6 separate regions of the Homo sapiens genome follow, and all the other regions are linked to region 3. Evidence: promoter capture Hi-C in 16 types of primary human blood cells and fetal thymus (Javierre and others, 2016). All regions are on one chromosome and are shown on one strand. Each heading gives the region's core, a stretch centred on a gene start or on the middle of the fragment in contact. The rest is flanking DNA. Distances are from core to core; before and after follow the strand shown.

Region 1 (4,412 bases), core at 1,591-4,090, 560 kb after region 3:
TATTTATTACTGGATTTTTGTTTGTTTTGGGTTTTGTTTTTTGTTTTGTTTTGTTTTTTGAGACAGAGTCTTGCTCTGTTGCCCAGGCTAGAGTGCAATGGCGTGATCTCAGCTCACTGCAACCTCCACCTCCTGGGTTCAAGCGATTCTCCTGCCTCAGCCTTCTGAGTAGCTGGGATTACAGTCGCCCGCCACCACGCCCAGCTAATTTTTCTGTTTTTAGTAGAGATGGGATTTCACCATGTTGGCCAGGCTGGTCTCGAACTCCTGACCTTAGTTGATCTGCCTGCCTCGGCCTCCCAAAGTGCTGGGATTACAGGCGTGAGCCACTACGCCTGGCCACTTGTTGTTTTAATAATTTATTTAGGGCCGGGCGCGGTGGCTCACACCTGTAATCCCAGCACTTTGGGAGGCCGAGGCGGGTGGATCACGAGGTTAGGAGATCGAGACCATCCTGGCTAACATGGTGAAACCCCATCTCTACTAAAAACAGAAAAATTAGCTGGGCGTGGTGGCGGACATCTGTAGTCCCAGCTACTCAGGAGGCTGAGACAGGAGAATGGTGTGAACCCGGGAGGCAGAGCTTGCAGTGAGCCGAGTTCATGCCACTGTACTCCAGCCCGGGTGACAAACCAAGACTCCATCTCAAAAAATAAATAAATAAATAAATAAATAATTTAATTGTCAGTATATATAATTTTTTTTTTTTTTTTGAGACGAGGTCTTGTTGTATCGCCCAGGCTGGAGTACAGTGGTGCAACCATAGCTCACTGCAGCCTTAGAGTCCTGGGCTCAAGCAATTCTTTCACCTCAGTCTTCCAAGTAGCTGGGAGCACAGGCGCATACCACCACACCGGGCTAATTAATTTTTACAAAGTTTTTTGTAGAGATGAGGTCTCACTCGATCTTAAACACCTGGCCTCAACTCCTGCCTCGGCGTCCCAAAGTGTTGATATTACAGGCGTGAGCCACTGCACCCAGGCTATGATTTAATTTTTAATAATGGCTGGGTTTAATAACCACTTTGCAAAATTCCTGAGAATTTAACAATCAGCTCCAGCCTACTGCTGCTGGGGAGTCTCCATAGAGGAGGAGGTGGGTCCCCACTCTCCAGATGTAAAATTGTTCAGAATCTACAGGCCCCCTCCCTCCCTGCTCAGGTGGTCTTTTGGTGCCTTAATGAAGAGTCGGATTTTGAAGCAGCCTTCAGCGTGGGAGCCACTGGCGTCATAACGGATTATCCCACAGCCCTGCGGCACTACCTGGACAACCATGGACCAGCTGCCCGGACCTCCTAAGTCCAGAAGCCTCGAGGTCTCCTGTTTCTCTTCCTGAAAAATAAATATTTGCCTTTCGATCACATCGTTGTGCTGAGGGTGAGGAGTAGAGGGGTGGGTCCTGAAGATATGAAGATGGCAGCTTAGGAGGGAACAGGCCAGCCCTGAGGCTGGAGCCTGGGGCCCTCAGGAGCCTGACCCACTGGTTCCACTGCATTCCTGTCCTCCTGCCACACCCCACCCCAGCCTGGCCTCCACTCTCCTCAGCAATGTCCTCTCACGGCCAACCCAGGCATCCTGGCCCCCAGCCACTTGACAGCAACAGGTAATGGTTCCATTTTCCTGAGGCCATCAACAGCCCAGGCACCGGGCAGGGAACTTGATCTCTTCCATGTCTTGCCCTGTGAGCTTCCTTCTCGGGCTGCAGAGGATGGGCCTGGGTGGGACAGCTGAGTTCACCCAGCCCCTCTGCTGCCCCCGCCATTCCAACCTTCTCCTCCCAGGTCTCCTTCTCCAGAAGCTCCCAGAATGCTTCTGCCATCTTCAGCCCCAGGGCCATATTCACTGAAGGAACTACACATTCACATTTCACAGATACTTCCTGAGCGCCTCCTCTAGACCAGGCTGGGCCCACTGCAGTGAGCAACACAAGCCAAAGAACTGCAGACACGTGTTGAAACAGACATTCCCTGAGATCAGACCTAACCCAGCCTGGAGCACAGGGGTGTTGGAAACAAGTGCTCAGTGTAGTCAAGAAAAACCAGCACTGAGACAGATTTCCCAGCAAGGCATCTTTACTTCAGAACGGTGCTACTTGCGCAGCTTGTAATCGCAAGAGCACCCCAAACAAAGGAGAGAAGGGCTTTTTAACCCTAACGCAGTTCCTGTTTCTGTGTCCTTTCCCCATTGACTGGGGATGGACTGCACAATCTGAGCTGATCCCGACTGGCTAAGGTTTAAACTTTCCCAAACAGGGTAGACTGGCGAAAAAGAAGAAAAACGGGGAGAAGTTTATGACCAGGAAGTTGAGTCTTTGAAGAGCTTAGCTGTCCCAACAATTTCCTCTCTTCTATTTGATACTTCTTCCTCTGCAAAAAATTTTAACAGGATTTGGCTTCGTTGTTCTTCTTGATTATCCAGGAGCAAGAGCTTGTCCAAGTATGGAGGGAGAGAAGAGAGGAAGGCTTTAGTGAGGGCTGTTTCTATGAGCCTTTGAGTTAACCCACGAATACAAGGTATGATGCGGCAGCCCACAAGGATAAGTACACTTGTTACAATTGCAAGAGAGGTAAAGATTGAAGCCAGGAGTCCTTTCCATTTTCCAAACCACTTTTCCATGAGACCCATAAAAGGGTTATCTAGTCCAGAATTTTCGGCTAATTCATTTGCCAGGGTGGTAAGGCCTTGTAAAGCTTTTGTGATGGTCCCGTCGGCGGCTGTATTATTAGGGATAAAAGTACAACATTGGACTCAGATCATGACACAGACTCTGCCTTTTCCTGCCAATATCATGTCAAGGGCTAGTCTATTTTCCCAGGTCATCTGGCTGGTGGGGCCTAATTGTTCAGCTATTCCTTTGATGGCATCCCTGGTATAACTGACGAATCGCTGCTCGCTGTAGTATATATAATTTATCCAGTCTACATTTTTATTTATAGCAGACCACCAGAACAAAACAGACTTAAACCCAGCGGCTATTTGATTCCAAGCTTTAAATTCACTTGGTAGCTCCCGTGGGACCCTGCTACTGTCTATGTAAACATGGGGGTCAAAGGCCCACGAGGGGCTTCTCTTTTTCTTTGGGTTACTTGCTTCCTGTCTGGTTGATGAAATGCCAAGGTGAAAGGGATGGCCAACTGGATTAGAGCAAAAGTGCTGCTCCAATTGCTTGGCAGCGTACCCAGTAACAGTCCACAATACCACCATACATCTGCTCGGGGATAGACAAGGGCTGACTGATTGGTTAGCTCTTGAAAAGGTTTAGACTCCCATTAGATTTCCAAGGAACGTCAATTTGTCCTGTTGTGGGAGACACAAGGTGTAACTGGCATTGAGAGGTGGAAGTCAAATGGTCCTTGGGAGCTGACCCGTAGGGCTCCTGATCTTTGGGAAACGTAGTGAAAGAGTGGCGCACGTCTTGTTTCCCCAGGCTGTGGTGTGCTGGAAGAGAGCTACCATACAGTCCATGCCTGGTTGGTTGGCCCATCTGAGTGGAAAGGGGACAATCTGGGTTTCCGGCCTGCCCGCTGCACAAGAGTAACAATCGCTTTTATTCAGGGTGCGAAAAGAATATTTAATCCATTCCAGCCAGGCATTTGCATCTTGATACCCGGTCTCAATGGCTAGGGTTTGCTTTAAGTCCTTGACTTCTACTATAGCTACTTTGGTTTTGTCATTGGGTAAGAGGTGAGGAATGGTTTGATTTGGTGGGCTTGGGGAGGGGGAGACGGTAGGAGGTGGAGAAGGGTGAACAAAACATATTTCAAAGAAGCCTATAGGGTCCCTTCCAGTAACATCGGCTCCTAAGCCATAGAAGCAACCTAGAGTGGAGTTAGGGTCGGTGGAGGTAGGGGTAGTAATAGAGGTAAGTACTGGGTTGCACTGGTTGGATTGGCAATTATAGGGGTGGTTCCCTTGATAAAGTAAAGGCTGCTTCCTTCGGGTTTTATTAGTTTTTTTGCACACTAGGCAACTATCCGCCACCTGACTAGCGAGGGTAGAGATTCCTATATACCCATAGGCTTTGAGGACTGTGTCACACATAGCTTGGGGACCCCAGTGAGTTTCTTGATAAAGCTGTGATAATATTTCCCTCATAAGAGGTTTAGACAGCATTTCCCTCCCGTCTGGTAATACCCACCTTCCCTCTGAGCTTTCCTTAGCTCCTATTCTTTTTAACTTTTCTTGGTCCGCGTCGGAGAAGATGGGGATTGCGACTGGAGGGGAAGGCAAGGGGTCAGATGGAAAATGGGTGCCTCTCAGGAAGAGGCAACTTGCTTGGCTACTTGATCTGTGAGGTTATTTCCCCGGTTTTCAAAAGATGGGTTTTTCTGGTGTCCTGGGACGTGGACCACCACTATTTCTTCTGGCAGTTGAAGATTTTCTAGTACTTGCATAATCAATTCTTTATAGACA
Region 2 (4,068 bases), core at 123-2,622, 610 kb after region 3:
TAAGGCTGGTCTTGAACTCCTGGGCTCAAGCAGTCCTCCAGCCTCAGCCTCCCAGGTAGCTGGGATTACAGGCATAAGCCACCTTCAGTAGGATCTGCTGAAGCTTCCTGAACCAGTGTGTAGGGTCTCACATTTCCACAGCTTTGCAGTTGCTGATCCCTCTGCCTGGAACACCCTCTGTCTTCCCCTCAAACCTCTTCCTCATCCCTCAAGCACGTCCTCAGTTTTGCCTCTGTGAGGTCTCCCTGCCAACCTCAGGCAGAGGTGGCTGCTTTGGACTGTGAATTCCCACAGCATCCTACAGATACTGTTGTTCTCGCACTTCTCACAAGATACTTGAATTCCTCACTTCCATGTCTGGCTCCACAATTAGACTGCAAGTGTCTGGGGCCTGGTCTGAGTCATCTCCGTATCCTGAGCTCTAGTACTTGGCCTAGCCCTGGGAGCCTTGGTGAATACTCACTGATTCTTTTTCTTTCTTTCTTTCTTTTTTCTTTTCTTTTCTTTTTTTTTTTTTTTTTTGAAACGGAGTTTTGCTCTTGTCGCCCAGGCTGGAGTGCAATGGTGTGATCTCAGCTCACTGCAACCTCCGCCCTGGATTCAAGCAATTCTCCTGCCTCAGCTTCCAGAGTAGCTGGAAGTGCCACCATGCCCAGCTAATTTTGTATTTTTAGTAGAGACGGGGTTTGTCCATGTTGGTCAGGCTGGTCTCGAACTCCCGACCTTAGGTGTTCTGCCCGCCTTGGCCTCCCAAAGTGCTGGGATTACAGGTGTGAGCCACTGCGCCTGGCCTGTTTTTTTCTTTTAATAAAGTAGACATGGGGTCTCACTATGTTGGCCAGGCTAGTCTCCAACTCCTGCCTCAAATGATCCTCCCACCTCGGCCTCCCAGGTTGCTGGTATTACAGGCCAGAGCCACTGCACTCAGCCAATACTCACTGATTCTATGAATGAATTGAAACCAAACACCATCCACGAATGAAGCATTGTTTTCCACACGTCCTAATTTCCTTGGCTTTCAAGGCACTCAGACCTCCCCGTTTCATTCCTAACCTTTTTAGATCACACACACACAGACACTTGCACACACCCACACATGCACGCTCACACAAGCACCCCTCTCTATGGAGGCCTCCGACTTCCTAAACGATGGCTGAATCCTGGCATTTTCCCCTAAAAACAATGCCACCATATACCTATTTTTGTCCATGTTCTCCACCCCAACATACCTCACCACAGCTGCTGCTCCTGGGGTTTCCTACACCATGAGGCAGCCACGGAAACTGCCAGGGGCTGTGTCCCTGGATCCAAATCTTCCCTCCCACTGTCAACCATACTGAGGTGGTCTCAGCCACCCTCTTGGCCACCCCTGGCCCTCTCAGAGGGCGTTTCAAGCCCAGAAAACAGAAGTCTAGCTGTTGCTAATGTCACCATTATTGATCCTAAAGAAGATTGTCTTCTTAGGCTGTCTTCCGGTTTTTGTTTTTGTTTTTGTTTTTTTTGAGACAGAGTCTCACTCGGTAGCCCAGGCTGGAGTGCAATGGCACAATCATGGCTCACCACAACAGCCTCGACCTCCTGGCTCAAGGGATCCTTCCACCTCAGTCTCCCAAGTAGCTGAGACTACAGGTGCATGCTACGACACCCAGCTAATTTTTAAAATTTTTTGTATAGACGGGGTCTCACTGTATTGCTCAGGCTGTTTTTGAACTCCTGGGCTCAGGCGATCCTCCTGCCTCAGCCTCTCGAATTGCTGGGATTACAAGCGTGAACCACTGTGCCCGGCCTTGGGCGGTCTTATTGTCTGATGGAATCCTGAGGACCAAGTTGAGGCCAGTTCTCACCTCAGCCCTACAAAAGGCCTCCAGGAACACATATTCTGCATATTCTGCCAACAGAGAGACTTCAGCCTTGGCAAGGCCCCTGGACACGTCCGTGGCCTGCAGTGCCCAGACTCGCTGGTGCTGGTGTTTTGTTCCTACCATGGGCTCATACATTATGCAGGAGCACGGGCAGTGCCCCAGGCTTGTGTGTTGCCAGGCAAGCCAAGACAAGGGATGATGTATGCACCCCACTTTGCCAAGGCCCCATTTCTTTTCTTTCTCTTTTTTTTTTTTTTTGAGATGGAGTCTTGCTCTGTTGCCCACGCTAGAGTGCAGTGGTGCGATCTCAGCGCACTGCAACCTCTGCCTCCCAAGTTGAGTGATTCTCCTATCTCAGCCTCCCAAATAGCTGGGATTACAGACGCATGCCACCATGCCCGGCTAATTTTTGTATTTTTAGTAGAGACAGGGTTTCACCATGTTGGCCAGGCTAGTCTTAAACTCCTGACCTTGTGATTTGTCCACGTCGGCCTCCCAAAGTGCTGGGTTACAGATGTGAGCTACTGCGCCTGGCTGTGCCGAGGCCCCACTTCTATCCACATCACAACATTTGCTGGGGGCAGAGAAAAACTGACTTCACAATAGCCAGCTAACCGCAAAGTCTCCTCTCCCGAAGTTGGAAGCTGGAGATGTCAGATGTATCATATGTAGTTCCGCACTTCCCCTAGGAAAGGGCAGACAGGATTGTATACTTCCAATAATCGTGGGGTGGGTGGGAGATCAGAGATGCAGAGTTCCCAGAAGATGAAAGAAGCTTCAGCAGGCTTGGACGTGGGAAGGGACCTGGCAGTTCTGATTCTGATCTAATACTTTCAGCTGCCTCCAATGGACATCCAACGATATCATCTCCCAGAGATTAAGAAGAGGTTCACCAGCCTCCTTAGTATAAAATGAAAGGCTTGTGTTTAGGTAATTACCCTGGGGGAATAAAGAAGCAGTGCTGAGCTAGAGCTGGTGTCAACAGAGGCCTCTCCACAGACTTTATCTTACTTAATCCTTACAGGAGGCACGAGTGGCAGAAACAATTACTTCCATCTTATAGGTTGGAAATAATAATGGCCCAGTTGGAAACAAAACGAAAAAAACCTTTAGGCCAGTGCAGTGGCTCACGCCTGTAATCCCAGCACTTTGGGAGGCCAAGGCAGGCGGACCACCTGAGGTCAGGAGTTTGAGATCAGCTTGGCTAGCATGGCAAAACCCCATCTCTACTAAAAATACAAAAATTAGCTGGGCATGGTGGCAGGTGCCTATAATCCAAGCTACTTGGGAGGCTGAGACAGGAGAATTGCTGGAACCCATGAGGTGAAGGTTGCAGTGAGCCAAGATCGCACCACTGCACTCCAGCCTGGGTGACAGACAGAGACTCCGCCCCCAAAAAGAAAAAAAAATAGCTGGGCGTGGTGGTGCATGCCTGTAATCTCAGCTACTCGGGAGGCTGAGGCAGGAGAATCACTTGAACTGGGGAGGCAGAGGGCAGAGGTTGCAGTGAGTTGAGATCATGTCACTGAACTCCAGCCTGGGCGAGAAAAAAAAAAAGCCTTTAGAACCAGGAAAGATCTGGATTTGAATTCTAGTTCTGCCACAGTATATCTGTGCAACCCTGGACAAGTCAATTGACCTCACTGAGCCTCAGTTGTACTCATGTGGAAAGTGGGGATAACCCTCAGGGACTGGCAGGGCTTTCTGTGATTATTTGAGAAAATGTATGCAAGGCACATGGCATAGAATGAAGGCTCATTAAAATATATAGCCAGGTGCAGTGGTTCATGCCTGCAATCCCCCAGCACTTTGGGAAGCTGAGGTGAAAGGATCGGTTGAGCCCAGGAGTTCAAGACCAGCCTCAGAAACATAGTGAACTCCATCTCTACAAAAAAAAAAGAAAAATTAGACATGCATGTTTTCTAATTTTCATGTGTATTTATGGTCCAACTACTTGGGAAGCTGAGGTGGAAGAATCTCTTGAGCCCAGGAGTTTTTTTGTTTGTTGTTGTTGGTGGTGGTTTTTTTTTTTTCTTTTGGAGGCGAAGTTTCACTCTTGTTGCCCAGGCTGGAGTGCAGTTGTGCGATCTTGACTCACTGCAACCTCTGCCTTCTGGGTTCAAGCGATTCTTCTGCCTCAGTCTCCTAAGTAGCTGGGATTACAGGCACCCGCCACCACGCCCAGCTAATTTTTGTATATTTAGTA
Region 3 (4,425 bases), core at 1,453-3,952:
GCTGGGAAAGTCGCAGCTCCCAGCAGGGCGCTCATGGGCCTCCAGGATCTACTCTCAGCCTCTCCTTCCAGCTGCTTCTCCCGCCACTGCCCACCCGGGTCCCAGTGCTCTCACCATTCTCTAAATACGCCGGGTCCTCACGTCTTCATGCTCTTGCCCAAAACAACTTTTCCCCGTGTCTTTTCTTAGCAAACTTCTGACTATACTTCAGGACCTGACTAAGACATCCTAGGGGGCTTTCCCCAACCACAACTCTCCTCCCATCCCCCAGGCAGCACAAGCGGCTTCCTCATGTGGGTTTCTGTAGCATCTCTCCCCATCTTTGTCTTCTGTAGCTTCTCAAATTAAGGTCTAGGTGTTTGCTTGCTGGCTATTTCTTTTCTGCTGGACTGCCACCACCTCGAGGAAGGGCAGGAACCACAATTAATTTACGACCCAACTATATTCCTTTGACGCCTCTCTGAATTATCAAAACGTTTGAAGTAGACACAGAACCAGGCAAAAGGAGGTGCACCTGACTGTAGACAGGCCTTCGTCAGACCCGGATGAGTAAGGGCTCAAATTTGCCCTGCTTGCCTCTTTGCCCTTAGAAACTGGGGTCTCTGTTTACAAGGGGCAGTGGCGTTGCTGATGAAAAACGGGGCTGTGGGAAATACATTCTGCCTAAAGAGTTTTAAGGGACAACCTCACCTCTTTTCTTCTCCGCTTATTGGGCCATTTTCGGGCCCGATCCCCAGGGGGCCGGCCAGGCTCTCGATCAGAGCTGTCCCCTGGCTCCCCGGTGGCCCCACTGGAGCCCCCCCTTTTCCGCTTCCCAGAATGCTTCAGCCGATGTTCCAGTCGCTCTGGGGGCTGAAGAGATGCATCCTTCTGTGGAGGAGGAGGTGGGGCTGAGATAGATGGAAAAGGGCAAGCTCCCAACCCCTCTAGGGGTGACCAGGTTGCCGAAGTACCCCTCGGGCCGGGAAACCGGGTCCCCAGAGACGAGCTCTACCTCCTCCCACCCCAGGGCGGGGCAGAGGCCTGGCCAGAGGAGCCGGTTGCTCTGGTTTGGGGTGCCAGCATTCCCCCCTCAACTCCACCCACTAGGGGCACTGCCCCCTCCTTGCTGCCCCTCGGAAACCCCCAAAGTCTCCTAGCCCCATTAGGCCCCACCTGCAAGGCCTCGAGGGTGGCGAAGCTGGCGATGGCGAAGCCATCGATCAAGTCCTCCTCCTCCTCTTCCTCCTCCTCAGGCTCCTCCTCGGCTTCGCCGTCGTCTGCGCCCCCCTCCTCCTCCTCCTCCTCCTCTTCCTCCCCGCGGCTGCCCGAGCCGGCAGGCCGCTTCCGAGCTCGGGGTCGCGGGGGTCGAGGTCTCGGACGGGGCCGCCGGCGTCTCGGGCCCCCAGGCCGCTCTCCAGACGAAGCTGACGACCAAGGCCTGGCGGGCGGCGGCGGCGACGACGAGGACGAGGAGCCGCGCGGGGCGGCCAACAGGGCCCGGGGCGCGTCGCCGCCTGGACCTCGGCGGCGCCGCTGCTCCCGGTCTCGGTCTCGGCGCGAGCAGCGCCGCCGTCGGCGCTCCCCCTCTGCTGCCCAGCCCGGACCCGGGGCCGCGGCCGCTGCCGTCTCCATGGCGACCGCCCTCAGCGCCGCATCCGGAGGCGGCGGGGCCCGAAGCGGCCTGTCCGCAGGCCCGGGGTCGCAGGCGCGGCGCTGGCGGCTGCACAGTGACGAGAGGGCCACGGCTTCTCCTTTAAAGCCGGATCTGCTGGCCCCGAGCTTGCCCCAAGGCCACGGCCCGGGGAGCCGGCGCCGCCCCCGGGGCGACAAGCCCGAGGGCCCCCCCTGCGGGCTCGGCGGGGCCGCGACGGCGAAAACGGGGCGGCCGTCCCTTTAAGGCGAGGCCCCAAGTTGTCCAGCTCCCGGCCCCTTTAAGACGACCCGACAGTGTCCGGCGGCCTAGTGCGGTGGCCACCCCCTGCCAGGGGTCGATGCAAGTCTCCCCGAGGAAGAGGAAGGGCCACCCCTTTAAAAGGGGCCGAAAGCTCGCCCCGAAACGCAGACCTCCCCTTTAAAAGTGTCTCAAGTCCTCCGGCTCAAAGAGGCCACCCCTTTAAGGAGTCCAGGGTCCTTCTAACAGCAGGCCGTCCCTTTAAGGGCTCGGAGTTAGTTTCTAGTCCTCCACAAGCGGCCACTTCCCCTTTAAGTTGAATTTAAAAGACTTCTTGTGTGTGGGGGAGGAGGACGTAAAGAAAAACCCCACTCGCCCCAGTTCTCCCAACGGCACAGTTCTCAATTTGTCAGCGTCTGCTCGGCGGCTTCCCCTTTAAGGCTGGCGTTGCAGTCCGCCGAGTTCAGTGGCCACCCCTTTAAGGAGATTTAAAGGGGCCTCCTCCGGGCCCAGCTCCTCCAGCCTCCGCCTCCGGTCGCCATGAAAGGCGCGAGGCGGGGCGGGGCAGCGAGGCCAGCCCTCCAAAGCCCCGGATGTGAGGCAACGGTGACGGGTACAGCTCCCCTGTCCGCCGACATAAAAGTCTCTTCCTCCTTTCCTCCGTCTCTGTCCGACTTGGGCCTTAGGGGATCCGGAACGGCCGATGGGCAGCGGGGGAGCTCCAGCACAAACTCCTGTTGTCTCCTTTGGAGTCTTAGGGCGCTTCTCCGCCAGGACTTCCCTACCCCTCCTCCCTCTTCCTCCTCAGCCTACGCCTCCTTCCTCTCTCGGCCTCCTCCCACGCTCCGCCCCCTTCCCCTCACCCCCAACGGGCGCAGTCGTTGATAGGCTGGGAGGGCTACGTCAAGGTGAGGGGCGGAGCCAAACCCGAGGGAGTGGGTGCATGTAACCGCCCTCAAATCTTGGATTGGGTTACGTCGGATTGGCTCCGCCCTTCCCCCCAGTCTTGTGACTCGACTGGTTAGAAGTAGGTGTTTGGGGCGGTTACTACAGGGCCCCGCCTCTTCCTGCTGTTTGTTTATTGGCCGGTCTCCTGATGGCGTCGAGGCGAGGGGCGGAGACGCGGGGCCTGAGGCGTTGGGGGCGGTTGGCCGCCGGGGGGCGCGCGGCTGCAAGAGGTTCCGTTCCACAGCCAGTTAAGTCATCGCCGCCTTTCCGCCGCTCGGCGCGGCCCACAGACAGCCTGGCGTCTCGCGCACGCGCGTGGCGGCGCCGCCGTCAGGCTGGCTGCTTGCGAGTCGTTCCGCGGCCCGGGGTGGCCCGAGCGGCCGCGTGCTGTGCCTGCGCCTGCGCCGGCCGCACTAACAGGCAGCCGCGTCCCTTCCAGGCGCGGCTGCTGGCAGCGGTCCCGAGTGCTAGCAATTCGAAAACGCCTTGCACCTGCATGAGCGCTTCTCCGCGTTTGTGACTGCGTTTGGTAATAATTCCATGAAGGAGATGCTGTCAGCCCCATTTTACTGGGACGGAAAGGAATGCGCGCACAGACGGGCTGGTAGTCTCCTAGCCACGTCTATGTCAGCCACTGCCCTGTGATGCCTCTCAGTTATGAAAGATGCACCCCACTGCTCAATGTGACTGGCTTAAAAAAAAAGAGACAGCCATTTCTGGCCTTCGGTTGCCCGGGTTACCGTTTTAAAAGTGGACAGCGCGCTGACATGCCTGCCTTGCTTTCTCGTCCATAAAATGACTAATTCCCTGTCGCAGGGACATGTGCAGGTCAAGCACCTATGACAGTCGTCGTGAGTGCTTCATTATGGCCCATTACTCTTAGCTCTTTGTTTTGTTTTGTTTTTTTGGGGGGGACAGAGTCTGGCTGTGTTCCCTAAGCTGGAGTGCAGTGGTGCGATCTCAGCTCATTACAACCTCTGCCTCTCGGGTTCAAGTGAATTCTCCTGGCTCAGCCTCCTGAGTAGCTGGGATTACAGGTACACACCAAGACACCCAGCTAATATTTGTATTTTTAGTGGAGACGGGGTTTCACCATGTTGGCCAAGCTGGTCTCGAACTCCTAGGCTCCTGTGATCCACCTGCCTCGGCCTCCCAAAGCGCTGGGATTACAGGCGTAAGCCACCGCACCTGGCCTAGCCGTAGCTCTTGAATCCAGCAGCAGGTCCTGGCCTGCATGTTAGCAGGAATTCAGGGCCATCTTGATCTTCAAGGCCTTGACCCACTATAGGCCTTTCAGTCTCCTTGATATAAATGAATTGGGAGAACCCAGACCACGGTCTAGGGTCACAGTATCATCTGGCACTGATTCAGAAGTGTCCCTCCACACAGGAGAATCCTCTAAGCAAGAGAGTATCTCTAGGCCGGGCATGGTGGCTCATGCCTGTAATCCCAGCACTTAGGGAGGCCAAAGCAGGCGGATTTCCTGAGGTCAGATGTTCAAGACCATCCTGGCCAACATGGTGAAGCCCAGTTTCTACTAAAAATACAAAAATTAGCGGGTGTGGTAGCGCACGCCTGTAATCCCAGATACTTGGGAGGCTGAG
Region 4 (4,294 bases), core at 1,521-4,020, 660 kb after region 3:
GCCACCCACTGTCCACCCCCAACCCCAGAGTGACCTAAAACAAACCTGGTCACATCCTTCCTGATGACATCACCCACTACCTGCATGAATTCATGGTGCTGCTTAATCTGGCTTCAATGTACCTTTCTGGTCAACTAACGTAACTGTATTCTTTAAAGCACACTGACCTATTTCGTCAAAAAAGAAATGTATTTCCTAGTTCAGTGCCTCTGCCTAGAAGGGCCATCTTTCATCGAACAAACGACTGCTACACCTATAGAAGCCGTTACCAATGTCTCTGCTCAGACAGACCCTTTAAGAAGCAGATTAAATGCCACCTCCTCTGTGAAGTCTTCCAGAATCCCTCAAGCCCAGTTAACTGCAGGCTCTCCTGGAACGCTCTACTCTCGTCATGGCTGCCCTCACACTGTGCTGAAAAGCGTCGTTTGCGAGTGTCTCCCTGGCCAGGGCGTGGGCCTCCAGGACGGGAGTGGGGCTCGCATCGCTGGCTCTTCCTCCTCAGATGCAACCCACTCTGGCCATGAACATGCTGGGTTCTCTCCCACCTCCTGCCCTGAATTCCCCTCAAACAGGATGTTAACTGGAAGCCCCTAGGGAAGGAAGAGGCAGGGGATGAGAGGCTACAATAAAAGCCAAATCTCCTACTATGACCTACCTGAGTGGGCCCCTGCCTATTTCCCCAACCTTATCTACAATCCTCCTATAATAACAAGCAAATGGGTATCATGCGTTCTGACAAAACACTACGTCCTAAAACGTGGCTGGCTGCCACATGCCAATCCCTGCCTCAGACCAATGTGCTTTTTTTTTTTTTTGAGACGGAGTCTTGCTCTGTTGCCCAGGCTGGAGTGCAGTGGCGTAATCTCGGCTCACTGCAAGCTCCGCCTCCCGGGTTCACACCATTCTTCTGCCTCAGCCTCCTGAGTAGCTGGGACTACAGGCGCCCGCCACCACACCCAGCTAATTTTATGTATTTTTAGTAGAGACGGGGTTTCACCATGTTAGCCAGGACGGTCTCGATCTCCTGACCTCGTGATCTGCCTGCCTCGGCCTCCCAAAGTGCTGGGATTACAAGCGTGAGCCACCGTGCCCGGCCCAGACCAATGTTTAAAGGCACCACGGAGAGAGGTGATTCTACGTGACATGGCTTACGAGGGCCTCACCCAGGAAGAGGCCCACAAATGCCTACCTTAGGGCTTTTTCAAACTGTGGGTCTCAAGCCATTAGTGGGTCATGAAATCAATTTATTGGTTTGCAACCAGCATTAAAAGAAGGGGAAAAAAGCAGTCTAAAAAGTGTCAGGATGAATTGGATACAGTGATCTTAAAAATGTTTCGTTAAACTTTGTTTTGTTTAACATGTGGGGCCCTGGTTATGATGTAAAATATAGTTAACTGCAGACAATATTCAAATAAAAGGACGAAAACAGTGTTCTCTCTCTTTCATGCCTCTGCTCTTCAACCAAGCCTGACCTGTTCTTACCTCAGGGTAGCTGCATTTATATTATTCTGCCGGGACAGCTCTAGCCCACTTCTTCACAAGATTGGTTTTTGTTTTTTTTTTTTTTTTGAGATGGAGTCTGGCTCTGTTGCCCAGGCTGGACTGCAGTAGTGCAATCTCAGCTCACTGCAAGCTCCACCTCCCAGGTTCACGCCATTCTTCTGCCTCAGCCTCCCGAGTAACTGGGACTACAGGTGCCCACCAACATCCCCGGCTAACTTTTTGTATTTTTAGTAGAGACAGGGTTTCACTGTGTTAGCCAGGATGGGGTTTCTTTCTTTTGAGACAGTCTTGCTCTGTCACCCAGGCTGGAGCACAGCGGTGCTATCATGGCTCACTGCAGCCTTGACCTTTCAGGCAAGGGATCCTCCTGGTTCTGCCTCCCAAGTAGCTGGGACCACATGTATACACCACTATACATGGCTAATTTTTTTTTAATTGAGATGGGGTCTCACTATGTTGCCCAGGATGGAAGGCTGGTTTCTTCTCTGGTCCCAACTCAAATGTCACTCTGTGAAAGGCCTTTCTTGAGTACTCCATTCAGAGGTTGCCTGCTGCCTGCTTGTGTGGTCTGCAAGCTAAGAAGGGCGTTTTTTTTTTTTTTTGAGACGGAGTCTCGCCCTGTCACCCAGGCTGGAATGCAGTGGCAGCGATCTCGGCTCACTGCAACCTCTGCCTCCAGGGTTCAAATGATTCTCCTGCCTCAGCCTCCCCAGTAGCTGGGATTACAGGTGCACGCCACCACACCCGACTAATTTTTGTATCTTTAGTAGAGACGAGGTTTCACCATGTTGGTCAGGCTGGTCTTGAACTCCCGACCTTGTGATCCGCCCACCTCGGCCTCCCAAAGTGTTGGGATTACAGGCGTGGGCCACTGCACCTGGCCAAGAATGGCTTTTAAGCTTTTAAACGGTTGGAAAAAAAAAAAACTAAAGAAAAATTTTTCATATGGAAAAATATGAAATTCAAATTTCAGTGCCTATAAAGTTTTATAGAAACATAGCCATACTCATGTATTTGCCTATGGGGTACGGCTGCTACTACAATGGCAGAGTTCAGTAGGTGCTTCAAAGATTGTATGTTGCAAAAAGCTTACTTACCATCTGGCCCTTTGCAGAAACAATTCATCAACCCCTGTTCTACTATAATCATTACCGCATAACTGTTTTCATTACCTTCAAGTCCTTCCTATGACCTAAAATTCTAGTCTATTGTCTTCATTTACTTATTCTTCCCAACTAGAATATAAATTACAAGAGGCCAAGGGCTTTGCCTATCTCTGCCTCTGCTGTATCCCCTGTGCCAAGCACAGTGCCTGAAACACAATAGGTGCTCAGTAAGTGCCTGAATGAAAGAACGGTGGAGGTGGAAGGCAAGCAACTAGGCTTAAGGACCACTGGGGGCTGCATCAGCCACCACTGCCTAAAAGGCGGGGGCCCAGGAAGCTTGCTAAGTACCAGGAACCATGCTCTCCACCAATTTTTGAAGACCTTGCTCACCCGAAGAGTCTTCATCCACGTTCTCGTACTGCAGAAGTCGGTCTAGGAGGAAACTGAGGGGAGGGAAGGAGACACGGACAGTGATTTTCCAGCGCAGCAATGTCCTCCTGGGTACCTGTCCCTCCCAGCTGGCCCATCGGATACTTGAAAGAGCCCATGCACTTGTGGCCCTACTCGGGGATGGGGTCCGAATGTAGATTTCCTAGGAAGCACATCGCCCTCCGCCCCTGCAACGTGCCTCACCTCTTGTCCCGGGACACCTTCAGTAATTTCCTTTGCGCTTTCCTCAGCTCCTCCTGGAAGCACTCGTGCTCCTGTATCACGGGCAAGGGGTGCGCTGGGCCAACGGTCCTCCGTGAAGGGCCCCGGAACCAGCGGCCGCTCGCCCCACCCACTTTACACCTGGGTAAACTGAGATCTTGTCCGCGCCAGGCCTCATCCCCCACAGCCTTCCCGCGGCAGCACTCACGTAGATGAGGAACTTGAGCTTCCGCTTCAGATTCCGGTATTTTTTTTTGTAGTCCACTTCGCCGTCCGCCGGCCCGTTCATGACCGGCCCGGGAGTGGCGCCCAGAGTCTGCCCTCCCGCTACCCCAAGCAGTGGCTGCCGTGCCGCTCCCGCCTCCACTTCCGGAGACGCTGCAAGGCTGTGCCGTCAGGACTACAACTCCCGGCGTACCCCGCGCTCAGGGGCGTCACCGCACGGGCCGACCTCCCGGGGGACACTGGGACAGGAGCGCGGCAGCCACTGCGCTGGGGATGGCGTAGCAGCGACGCGGTGACGCCACAAAAATGGCGGACGCTGGAAAGCGCCGTTCCTGACTCTAATGTACTTAGACACTTGAAGCCACAAAAGGATTTATCCCCGAGGTTCCTCATCTGCTCGCGAGGATGCCTTTTCTCTTCTGCCTTGCGAAATAACAGCAGCCTAGCTGTTGCCCGTGACCAGTGAGAAAGGCAGCGTCGCGGGCTGATTAGGTTTCACCCAAAGGGTGCCGGCGCCGAATTGGTTTCTAACGAGAACTTTTAAAATGATCCGTTCCAAAAAAGGGTAGGAGCCGCGAGACCCTCCAACTGCCCAGAGAAAACAAGTCTCGTCTGGCAAAGTTCTCGGCCCACGCGGTCCGCGGCCAAGGGCCAACGGTCCCTCGCCCCACGTTGCCGCAGCACTGCGCGTGCGCGAGCCGCTGTCAAACGCGCTGACGGAGGCCGAGAAGAAAAAAAGGCGGGAGCCGTCAATCCCGGGTTGAGCAAAATGGCGCGGGAGAAGGAGATGCAGGAGTTCACCCGTAGCT
Region 5 (4,612 bases), core at 585-3,084, 800 kb after region 3:
GTTGCTTTATATCTTCGGGAGTGAGAGGGAACTCCCGCAACCCCCTACCCCTCACCCCTTCGCCTGGTGGGCCTCTCCTTCCTTCTTCCCTCCCAAGCACCTTCCCAAGCCGAGGCAGCCGACTTGACGCCCCAGACCTGGCAGATGGGTGGAAACCTTGGGCTACTCGGCAAAAGGAGAGACGTGGAGGCCTAAGGACCTCTGGTATAGGTCGTGGGGGATGGAGAATGGGAGATGGGGAGGAAGGCTGGAAAAGGGGGAGCCGGCTCCGTGTCGCTACCGGACGCTATAAAACCCTTGGAGTCTGCAGAGGTTCCGCAGCCTCGTTGCTAGGAGATCAGGGGTTCTAGAACTAAAGACAGAGGAATTTCCTAGCGCGCCCCGTTTGCTCCTCCAGCCTCCCCTCCGTACCCCTCCAGGTGCCTCCTTGAGGGCAGTGACCCCAAGCGCCAGACGCTTGAGAAGCTTGGGAGGATGACGTAGGGTGGAGCCTGCGACCTAATCCTCCCATCACAAGGGGCACGCGAAAAGCAACCCATCTGCAGGGCGCTCTGGAGCCTCTCTAGCCGCCTAGAGCCTGCGAGAGCAAAGGCGGCTGGAGACTTAGGGGGCGGGGAGTAAAGTGAGGACTGCACCAAATCTCCTGGCCTCTTGGGGACGCAAAGACTCAGGAGGAGGAATTTTATCGCCTTATCTTTGCCTCCAGGAAGTCATACCCTCCACAAAAGGAAAGCAGAGATTTTTATTCGGTCTTCTCTTTTACCCTTTCCTTTTCCGTTTCTAACTTTGCTTGACGTTAATGGTTCCTTCCTCCCTCTCCTCCTCTGCGCTTTGGTACGAGCCAAGGGAGAGGGGCGGAGGGAGGAAAAGGGAAAGGAAGCCGACAGGCCTTAAAGGGGCCGCAACTATTTTTTTAAGCCACTTTTTCCTCTCTCCAATTTTGCAACGACGGGCGCGGAGGAGGAGGTTCCCGGAAGCCACGCGCAGCTGGAGCAGCGGCGACCGCAGCTGGAGGCCCGGAGCGCCTGCGGGGCTGGCAGAGGCGAGGGAGGTTGCGGGTAGGAAGGGCGGACTGCGCGCGCCCCCTGCGTCCCGCGCACCTCGGGGCCGGTCCATGCTCCCGACGGCTGCGGGCTTCAGCATCTGGGGCCAGGTTGGGGCGGCGGGGTCCAGGGCGCAGGTGGTGCGGCCGATGCGCCGGGCCGGAGGCTGAGGCCGCGCTGCGGGGCTGGGACAGCACTGGCATCTCCAGAGCAGGCCCGGGGCAGCAAGGGAGGCGCCGCGATGCCAGACGAAAATATCTTCCTGTTCGTGCCCAACCTCATCGGTGAGTGCTGCCCACGGCCCCGGGCCGAACGAGAGGGCGAGGGGCCTTGGCGGGCTCCCTGATCCTGCCCTGTCTCCCCGCGTCCCGTTCCAAGGTTATGCCCGGATTGTCTTCGCCATCATTTCTTTCTACTTCATGCCCTGCTGCCCCCTCACGGCCTCCTCCTTCTACCTGCTCAGCGGCCTGCTGGACGCTTTCGATGGACACGCTGCTCGCGCTCTTAATCAAGGTGACAGACACCCCTCTCAGCCAGCCTTGGGGTTCAACAATCCCCTCCTCCCTTCCCCTGCCTCCTCGGGACCTCAGAGTCAGAGGGCTGTCATTCCCATCTCTGGAAAAAGCAGAACAGGATGGCCTGGGGCTTTTTGTTTTGTGTTTTGTTTTTTTGTTTTTGAGACAGGGTCTCGCTCTGTCACTTAGGCTGGAGTGCAGTGGCGCGATCATGGCTCACTGCAGCCCCCATCTTCTGGGCTCAAGTAATCCTCCCACCTCAGCCTCCTGACTAGCTGGGACTACAGGAGCGTGCCACCACACCCGGCTAATTTTTAAATTTTTGTAGAGACTGGGTCTTGCAGTGTCGCCCAGATTGGTCCCCAGCTCCTAGCCTCAAGCGATCCTCCTGCCTTGCTCCCAAAGTGCCGCGCCCAGCAAGAATGGACTGATTTTGTAGCAAAAGGAATTTAAGCTAGCTCTTGAGAACTCACTGCTTGTGAGAGGTGTGGATTAGCAAGACATGACATGGCGGTGGCGCTGCTGGAGGTCTCTCTGAATACAAGTCCATTCAGGCCAGGGGCGGTGGCTCACGCCTGTAATCCCAGCACTTTGGGAGGCCGAGGTGGGTGGATCACGAGTTCAGGAGTTCGAGACCAGCCTGGCCAACATGGTGAAACCCTGTCTCTACTAAAAATACAAAAATTAGCGGGCTTGGTGACGCGTGCCTGTAATCCCAGCTACTCGGGAGGCTAAGGCAGGAGAATTGCTTGAACCCGGGAGGCGGAGGTTGCAGTGAGCCAAGATTGCGCCATTGCACTCCAGCCTGGGCGACAGAGCAAGACTCTGTCTCGGAAAAAAAAAAACAAAAAACAAAAAACAGTGTATTCAACAGGTGTTTACTGGAGGCCTACTGTGTGCCCTGCATAAGCAGTTGGGGTTCCAGAAGGCATGCTTAGAGGGAGGATGGAGAGGGAAGGGTGATGGCTTCTGGAGGGTTGACTAATTTTTTAATCTGTTCTCCAGACCCAACTGTAAGGCTTCCCCTGAGGCATCAAGTCTCTATCTAGCCCTGGAGTCTTGGTTCTGGGGTTGATGAGTTGCAGACATAGCTTTCCTCTCCTCCTACCCTGTTCCCTCCACTCTCATGCCTTTCTCAGTTCATGCCATGGTGACCTTTGCCCACTGACCTCACACACAGCCTGTTTTCTAGCCTGCGTTCCTCCCCAGGCAGGCGGACACTTCCAGTCTTCGTTTACACCCTGCGTCAGAGTGATAAACCAAATATGGGCACCTGTCCTGCATCCACTGTGCCATAACAGCCCTTGCCCACCTAATCTTCCAGGAACCCGGTTTGGGGCCATGCTGGACATGCTGACGGACCGCTGCTCCACCATGTGCCTGTTGGTCAACCTGGCCCTGCTGTACCCTGGAGCCACGCTGTTCTTCCAAATCAGCATGAGTTTGGATGTGGCCAGTCACTGGCTGCACCTCCACAGGTCTGCTGCGATTCTGGGGGCCTGGGCCACTTGGAGACATTACAGTGGGGTGGGCTGAGCCTAGACGGAAGGGTGTCTGGGATGGCACTAGGCATCCTGGAAGGGCTCCTTTTTAGCTCTGCTTTGTAGAAAGACCCCAGGCAAACCTGCCTCTCTTTAAAGCTTCAGTCATGTTTACAGTTGCATTAAGCAATTCTTAGGACTCTTCTGGCTGGGTATTCTAGGATTCCATATAGGTGACAGCTTATAGGAAGGGGCATGGGAGCTTTCAAATGTGGCATTTGAATCCTGACTCTGCCCCCAAATAGGTAACTGTGGCTTTCGGCAGGATACTGGTCCTTAGCCGTGCCCAGTTTTCCATCTGTACAATAGGTGTTAACATGAGGATTGGATGCATGGTAGTGGTCATGAAACCTTGTGGGTTCCCCTGTTTTCTCCCCAAGTTCTGTGGTCCGAGGCAGTGAGAGTCACAAGATGATCGACTTGTCCGGGAATCCGGTGCTTCGGATCTACTACACCTCGAGGGTAAGCATTTCCTGCACACCCCACCCCTCAGGCTCTTGGCTGTGGGAAGCCCTGGGCTGAATCCTGGTCCTAGCCTAGGAGAAGGCGAGGGCGCAGAGCAGGGCCTGCCCAGTCACTCCAGGAGGAGGGCCCGTAAGCTGAGGCGTGGAGGAGGAGGATTGGTGGGGAAGGCCTGTGTGAATTACTCCAGGGAACAAGTGGGAATGAGGCCTGCAAAGAGAAGGGACTGAAAGCGGGAAGGGAGATAAGCCAGAGAGGTCTGCAGGGCTGGAGTGTGGACTTGATTCCAGGAACACAGGCAGCCTCTGGAAGGATTTTTAAAAAGATAATGGCTGGGCATGGTGGCTCATGCCTGTAATCCCAGCGCTTTGGGAGGCTGAGGTGGGAGGATTGCTTGAGGCCAGGAGTTTGAGACCAGCCTGGGCAACAAAGTGAGACTCTGTTTCCACACACACACAAAATCTTGAATTAGCTTAGCCAGGCACAGTGGTACACGCCTGTAGTCTCTACTTAGGAGGCTAAGGTGGAAGGATTGCGTGAGACCAAGGGTTTATTTATTTATTTATTTATTTTTTTGAGACAGAGTCCTGCTCTGTCACCCAGGCTGGAGTTCAGTGGCGGGTTATCGGCTCACTGCAACCTCTGCCTGCTGGGTTCAAGCGATTCTTGTGCCTCAGCCTCCTGAGTGGCTGGGACTACCGGCACGTGCCACCACACTCGGCTAATTTTTGTATTGTTAGTAGAGAGGGGTTTCGCCACGTTGGCCAGGCTGGTCCCAAACTCCTGACCTCAGGTGATCCGCCTGTCTCAGCCTCCCAAAGTGCTGGGACTCCAGGCATGAGCCACACGCCTGGCTGAGACCAGGAGTTTTGAGGCTGCAGTGCTATGATCATACTACTGCATTCCAACCTGGATGAGAGAGCGAGACCCTGTCTGTAAAAAAGAAAAAAAAATAAGAGAAGTAATATGCCGAGATTGTGCCTTCATTAGTGCTGGGGGGGCAGGGGGTGGCACACGCCTGCCTCTTGCTAACGTGGCCTGTTTGCTGTGT
Region 6 (4,086 bases), core at 1,208-3,707, 580 kb after region 3:
ATTGGAACCCAGAAGCCCAATTTCCTGAGAATTTATGCCAGCCCCTTCCACAGACCCTGAGTGAAAACCTGAAGCCCAGGGAGGTCACATGCAGGGCCCGTGCTCTCTGCAAAGCCCCCCTCAGTGCCAGCGCAACCCCAGTGTGGCCTGGGAATCAGGCCCAGATTCCAGCCCCAGTTCTGCCACTTGCAGCACTTCCCCAGCCCTATCAGGACCTGCCTGCAGTAACGGCTACCAGCGCAGCAGGCCCTGTGCCCGGATACCCGGACTCTCAACTGCATGTCATTATCACTTCAAAAAATCAGAAAGTGACTTGACGAGGGTCATATTGCTTCTAGGTGACAAGGCAAAGATTCATACTGAAGACCACCTGATTCAAAAGCTCAGCTCTCCTACTGTGCTAATATTTCTAGTAGCAGCAATTTCAGCTCAGACACTGCGGACCTCTGTGCTTCCACTGGTTTCATCTGCATGTCTGTGCCCTCTAGGCAAGCTGGTGCTCTTGACACCACCAGCCTCAGCCTGGGTCTCTGATGGGTCCCCAGGAGGCCATAACCAGGTATCAGAGATGGCCCTGCTTCAGACTGAGCCTGGGACAACAGCGGCCAACTCAGGCCTTGGCCTAGTACCTCCTAGTTCCACTCAGTTTCAACTGGGCAGGACCCTCCACCCCTCAGCCTTCCATGGCTTCCTGCTGCCTCACACCCCACATCAAAATCTAAATGCCTCTGCCTGGCTCTCAGTGACCACGGAGCACAGTCAAAGACCTGGATGCAAAACTAACTTCCCCTCCGACTAGCTGCGTGATGTTGGGCAAGACATTATCTACTCAAAGGCTCAGTTTCCTCTGCTATGAAATGGGGCTAAGTACTCAGCCCACCCTGCGTATTCCTTAGGCTGTTGCAAGGAGCCATGGAGACTGAATATACGACTTCCTGCTATTCTGCAAACTCCAGCATGCTATCTAAGCTTTGTCTACCATCACCACCACACTGATCCAGGGCCCGTGAGGGAGACAATACTTCGAGGTTAAAGAATAGTGCCAGGCAACAACAGGTTTAAGTTCCTAAAAATGCCAATCAGGACTGAGGGAAAGGGGACAACTAAAAACACCATGGGGCTGGTCTGGTCAGCTGGCAAAAGAGAAAAGCCACAGACAGGTGGCGAAAAAGAGGCCGACCCTGCTCATCATCCCCTCACAGGCCCTGTCTGGCTGCAGGTAGTCTATGTGAGGCAGGGCCAGGCAAAGAGCCTGAGGGCCACAGATTCAGGACCCAGCTCTGCCACGTCCTCAGTGGGTGACCTCAGTTAAGTCACCAGACCTCTACGAGTCATGGCTTCCTATTCGATAAAATGCAGCAAATGATTCCAACCTCATAGGATTGCTGGGGGGAAGAGATGGATAGAAGTTTTTTGCCAGTACCGGGCCAGGCCAAATAGTGGCCCTGTAAAGGCCAATGTTTACTGTTCAATAAACGTAGGGTAATTCTGTGGGCTCTTCTGCCACAATTCTCCAGCCTGGTAGAAGCCACAATCACACAGTTCCCCAGAGGAGGCAGGTAATTAAACCCCTGACTGTTCCCCACGCATCTCAGGGCCTCCACTGTTACATTCGTCCTGCTTGGAATGCCCTTCCCTCACTGGCCCTGCCTCCATCAGCTAGCCAAATTATCTTCATCCTTCAAGGCCTACCTCCACTCAAAAGCCCTCCCTGATGGCTTTAGCCCATCTCATTATTGCCCTCTTCCAAAAGAAATAGAATACCTGGTGATTATCAAGCACGTATGCTGTACCAAAACACTGTGCTAACCTCATCTCCAGCACCAACTCACTGAATCTTCACAATCATCTTATTAAGTACTATTAATTCTGCTTTACAAATAAAGACACTTAAGATTACTAACACAGCTAGAAAGCGGCAGAGTTCAGATTCAAACCTAGAGCCATCTCACACTGCAAAACCTAGAGCCTTAACCACTACATCATCCTACTTCCCACAGAACTCTGAACTGGCCTCCCTATCGTGCTTAATTCTACCCTGGCTTACTTGCTACGATTTCTCAGGCTCCCACCCTGAACGTGAATGATCCAACTCCACCTTTTTGCATTATGGCCTGAAAAAGGACAGGACACTAAGAGCTGGCTTCAGACCCCATTCCTTACTTGTGGGTAACTTTGAACATGAAAGTTCCCACCTGTAAAATGAGTACAATACCACCAATCTTTAAGGGTTGTTGTAATTAGAAGACTTTTATAAATCACAGGGTCTTTAACTTTCCTGTCTTAAACTTTTGGTTTTTGGCTGACTCTTTTACCACCTCCTTATTCGAGGCCTCTCCCACAGTTCGGCCCCCCTCCAACAAGCTTCCGTCCCCCGACAGATGGACTTGTTTCCTTGAGTTTCCTAAGTACTTTATGTAACACTCTTACTCCACTGGAAACACATCGTCTAATAAACTTTAAGTGTCTTTATCCACTCTGTCTTCCCCGAGCAGGCTAGCTTTTCCTCGAGGGCAGCGGCTCCATCCTGCTCCTCTCTGGGAAAGCTTCCAGAACGAGGCAAGCCCAAAGTTCTCAGTTGGGTTTGCCCCAGGCCAGAACCCGTGGGCGGCGGCTTGGCCTCCCTTCCCCAGGGCCAACGAGCTCACCTGGCCTTAGCGCACAGGGCCTTGACTTCGCTCTCCTTGATGAGCTCGCAGCGACGCAGCTGCTCGATCTGCCGGTCCAGGTCGCTGATCTCCGCCATGGCCCACCCCCGGCGCGGGTCAGAGTCGGGGCCGCCGCCCCCTCCGCACCGCACAGGGGTCTCCTGGGAAAGGCCAAGACGAGCCCGCGGATCAGTGTCCGTCCGGGGCTCGGAGCGGACAACTCGATTCTAGAGCCGGCCCGGCTCCCCCACCCCCGCCTCCCCTCACATCGGCCCCAGGACCCCCCGGCGTCCAACGGCCTGGCCGCACCCCCGCTAACTCCCGTCGAACCCCGCGGTCCCGCGCTAAGGACGGTGACTTAGAGGAGTCTCGCACTATTACCGCCGCTGCGACTCCGGTTCCGGCTCTCCGGCTCCCTGCCTCCCTCTTTCACTCCGCTTTCGACCGCCGCCGCCGCCGCCGCCGCCGCTCCTACTTCCGGCCCCGCCGCGGAAGCAAAGGAGGCCAGTTCCGCCGCGCGCCGGATGTGGCGTCATACACGCTCCTCTCCTTTCGCAGCGACCCCTGCACCACTTCTCCAGCCTGAGATCGGGAAGGAGGTGGAGGAACCCGGTGGCGGCCAGTGGCAGTTTTGTGGGCTCTGCCGCTGGGCGATGTGGAGGCTATTAGAAACCCTAGACCAGTCCCCTCCCATATCATTTCATAAAAATGTTTAAACAACTGTCTTTTCTTTTTTTGAGACGGAGTTTTGCTGTTGCCCAGGCCGGGGTGCAATGGCACGAACTCGGCTCACCGCAACTTCCGCCTCCCGGGTTCCAGCAATTCTCCTGCCTCAGCCTCCTGAGTAGCTGGGATTACAGGCATGCGCTACCACGCTGGGCTAATTTTGTATTTTTAATAGAGACGGGGTTTCTCCATGTTGGTCAGGCTGGTCTCTAACTCCCTACCTCAGGTGATCCGCGCCCCCACCCACCACCACCCTTCGGCCTCCCAAAGTGCTGGGATTACAGGCGTGAGCCACCGCGCCCGGCCACAACTTTCTTTTTTCTAAATTAGAGACAGGGTCTCGCTCTATCGCTCAGGCTGGAGTCGGTGGGGCTATCATAGGTCACTGTGACCTCGAACTCCTGGGCACAAGCTATCTTCCCGCCTCGGGCCTCCCAAAGTGCTGGGATTACAGGCGTGAGCCACCGCGCCCGGCCATCCCCCATTTCAGCTAGGGAAACAAGCCGAGCTGGGGCTAGGCTTTGTAACTTTATTACACTTTTTTTTTTTAACATTACACTTTTTTTTTAATGTTACACATTTTTGTTACTTGTTTTGTCAGCCTTCCCCACCACAGTCCTTGGAGGATCCAACTTTGTCTTTTTAAATATTGCAGCCCCAGTGGTTAGAATAAGGCCTGGCACGGTAGGCATATATAGATACTTGTTAATAC

What was found. Contacts are between HindIII fragments. The CHiCAGO score rates a contact against its expected background, and 5 or more counts as called.
Region 1: a contact is called between a fragment that was not itself captured here and the fragment with the promoter of FBRS in region 3, in 2 of 17 cell types (fetal thymus and erythroblasts). The highest score is 7.2, in fetal thymus.
Region 2: a contact is called between a fragment that was not itself captured here and the fragment with the promoter of FBRS in region 3, in 2 of 17 cell types (fetal thymus and naive CD8 T cells). The highest score is 9.8, in fetal thymus.
Region 4: a contact is called between a fragment that was not itself captured here and the fragment with the promoter of FBRS in region 3, in 1 of 17 cell types (fetal thymus). The highest score is 9.9, in fetal thymus.
Region 5: a contact is called between a fragment that was not itself captured here and the fragment with the promoter of FBRS in region 3, in 1 of 17 cell types (fetal thymus). The highest score is 6.2, in fetal thymus.
Region 6: a contact is called between a fragment that was not itself captured here and the fragment with the promoter of FBRS in region 3, in 8 of 17 cell types (fetal thymus, naive CD8 T cells, total B cells and 5 more). The highest score is 18.1, in fetal thymus.

What each region holds. Positions count from the first base shown.
Region 1 is chr16:30,101,758-30,106,169 of GRCh38, reverse strand. It overlaps YPEL3-DT (YPEL3 divergent transcript), which reads right to left. Exons shown (of 2, transcript NR_135192.1): 2 at 714-2,713. GDPD3 (glycerophosphodiester phosphodiesterase domain containing 3) reads left to right here. Exons shown (of 10, transcript NM_024307.3): 10 at 1,161-1,360. The coding sequence ends at 1,298. Among named protein-coding and RNA genes, the nearest start is that of YPEL3-DT, 7.5 kb to the right of the region's middle. The HindIII fragment of the contact is 297 bases long and covers 2,692-2,988 here.
Region 2 is chr16:30,047,976-30,052,043 of GRCh38, reverse strand. It overlaps a transcript of TLCD3B not described here. Among named protein-coding and RNA genes, the nearest start is that of ALDOA, 16 kb to the left of the region's middle. RefSeq lists a silencer at 3,199-3,399. The HindIII fragment of the contact is 2,534 bases long and covers 106-2,639 here.
Region 3 is chr16:30,656,708-30,661,132 of GRCh38, reverse strand. FBRS (fibrosin) reads right to left here and starts at 2,702. Exons shown (of 18, transcript NM_001105079.3): 1 at 1,156-2,702; 2 at 691-870. The coding sequence starts at 1,614. RefSeq lists enhancers at 147-306, 1,987-2,436 and silencers at 1,517-1,566, 1,637-1,866, 2,687-2,866, 2,917-2,996, 3,027-3,286. The HindIII fragment of the contact is 16,259 bases long and covers 1-4,425 here.
Region 4 is chr16:29,995,566-29,999,859 of GRCh38, reverse strand. INO80E (INO80 complex subunit E) reads right to left here and starts at 3,619. Exons shown (of 7, transcript NM_173618.3): 1 at 3,469-3,619; 2 at 3,243-3,313; 3 at 3,000-3,052. The coding sequence starts at 3,549. It overlaps HIRIP3 (HIRA interacting protein 3), which reads left to right and starts at 4,243. Exons shown (of 7, transcript NM_003609.5): 1 at 4,243-4,294. The coding sequence starts at 4,255. RefSeq lists enhancers at 3,536-3,665, 3,726-3,895. The HindIII fragment of the contact is 354 bases long and covers 2,594-2,947 here.
Region 5 is chr16:29,859,530-29,864,141 of GRCh38, reverse strand. CDIPT (CDP-diacylglycerol--inositol 3-phosphatidyltransferase) reads left to right here and starts at 916. Exons shown (of 6, transcript NM_006319.5): 1 at 916-1,327; 2 at 1,422-1,556; 3 at 2,883-3,036; 4 at 3,480-3,561. The coding sequence starts at 1,285. It also overlaps the pseudogene CDIPTOSP. RefSeq lists enhancers at 258-795, 2,951-3,489 and silencers at 844-903, 914-1,223. The HindIII fragment of the contact is 2,733 bases long and covers 468-3,200 here.
Region 6 is chr16:30,075,038-30,079,123 of GRCh38, reverse strand. PPP4C (protein phosphatase 4 catalytic subunit) reads right to left here and starts at 3,130. Exons shown (of 9, transcript NM_002720.3): 1 at 3,030-3,130; 2 at 2,649-2,809. The coding sequence starts at 2,746. RefSeq lists an enhancer at 2,517-2,606 and a silencer at 2,717-2,856. The HindIII fragment of the contact is 182 bases long and covers 2,367-2,548 here.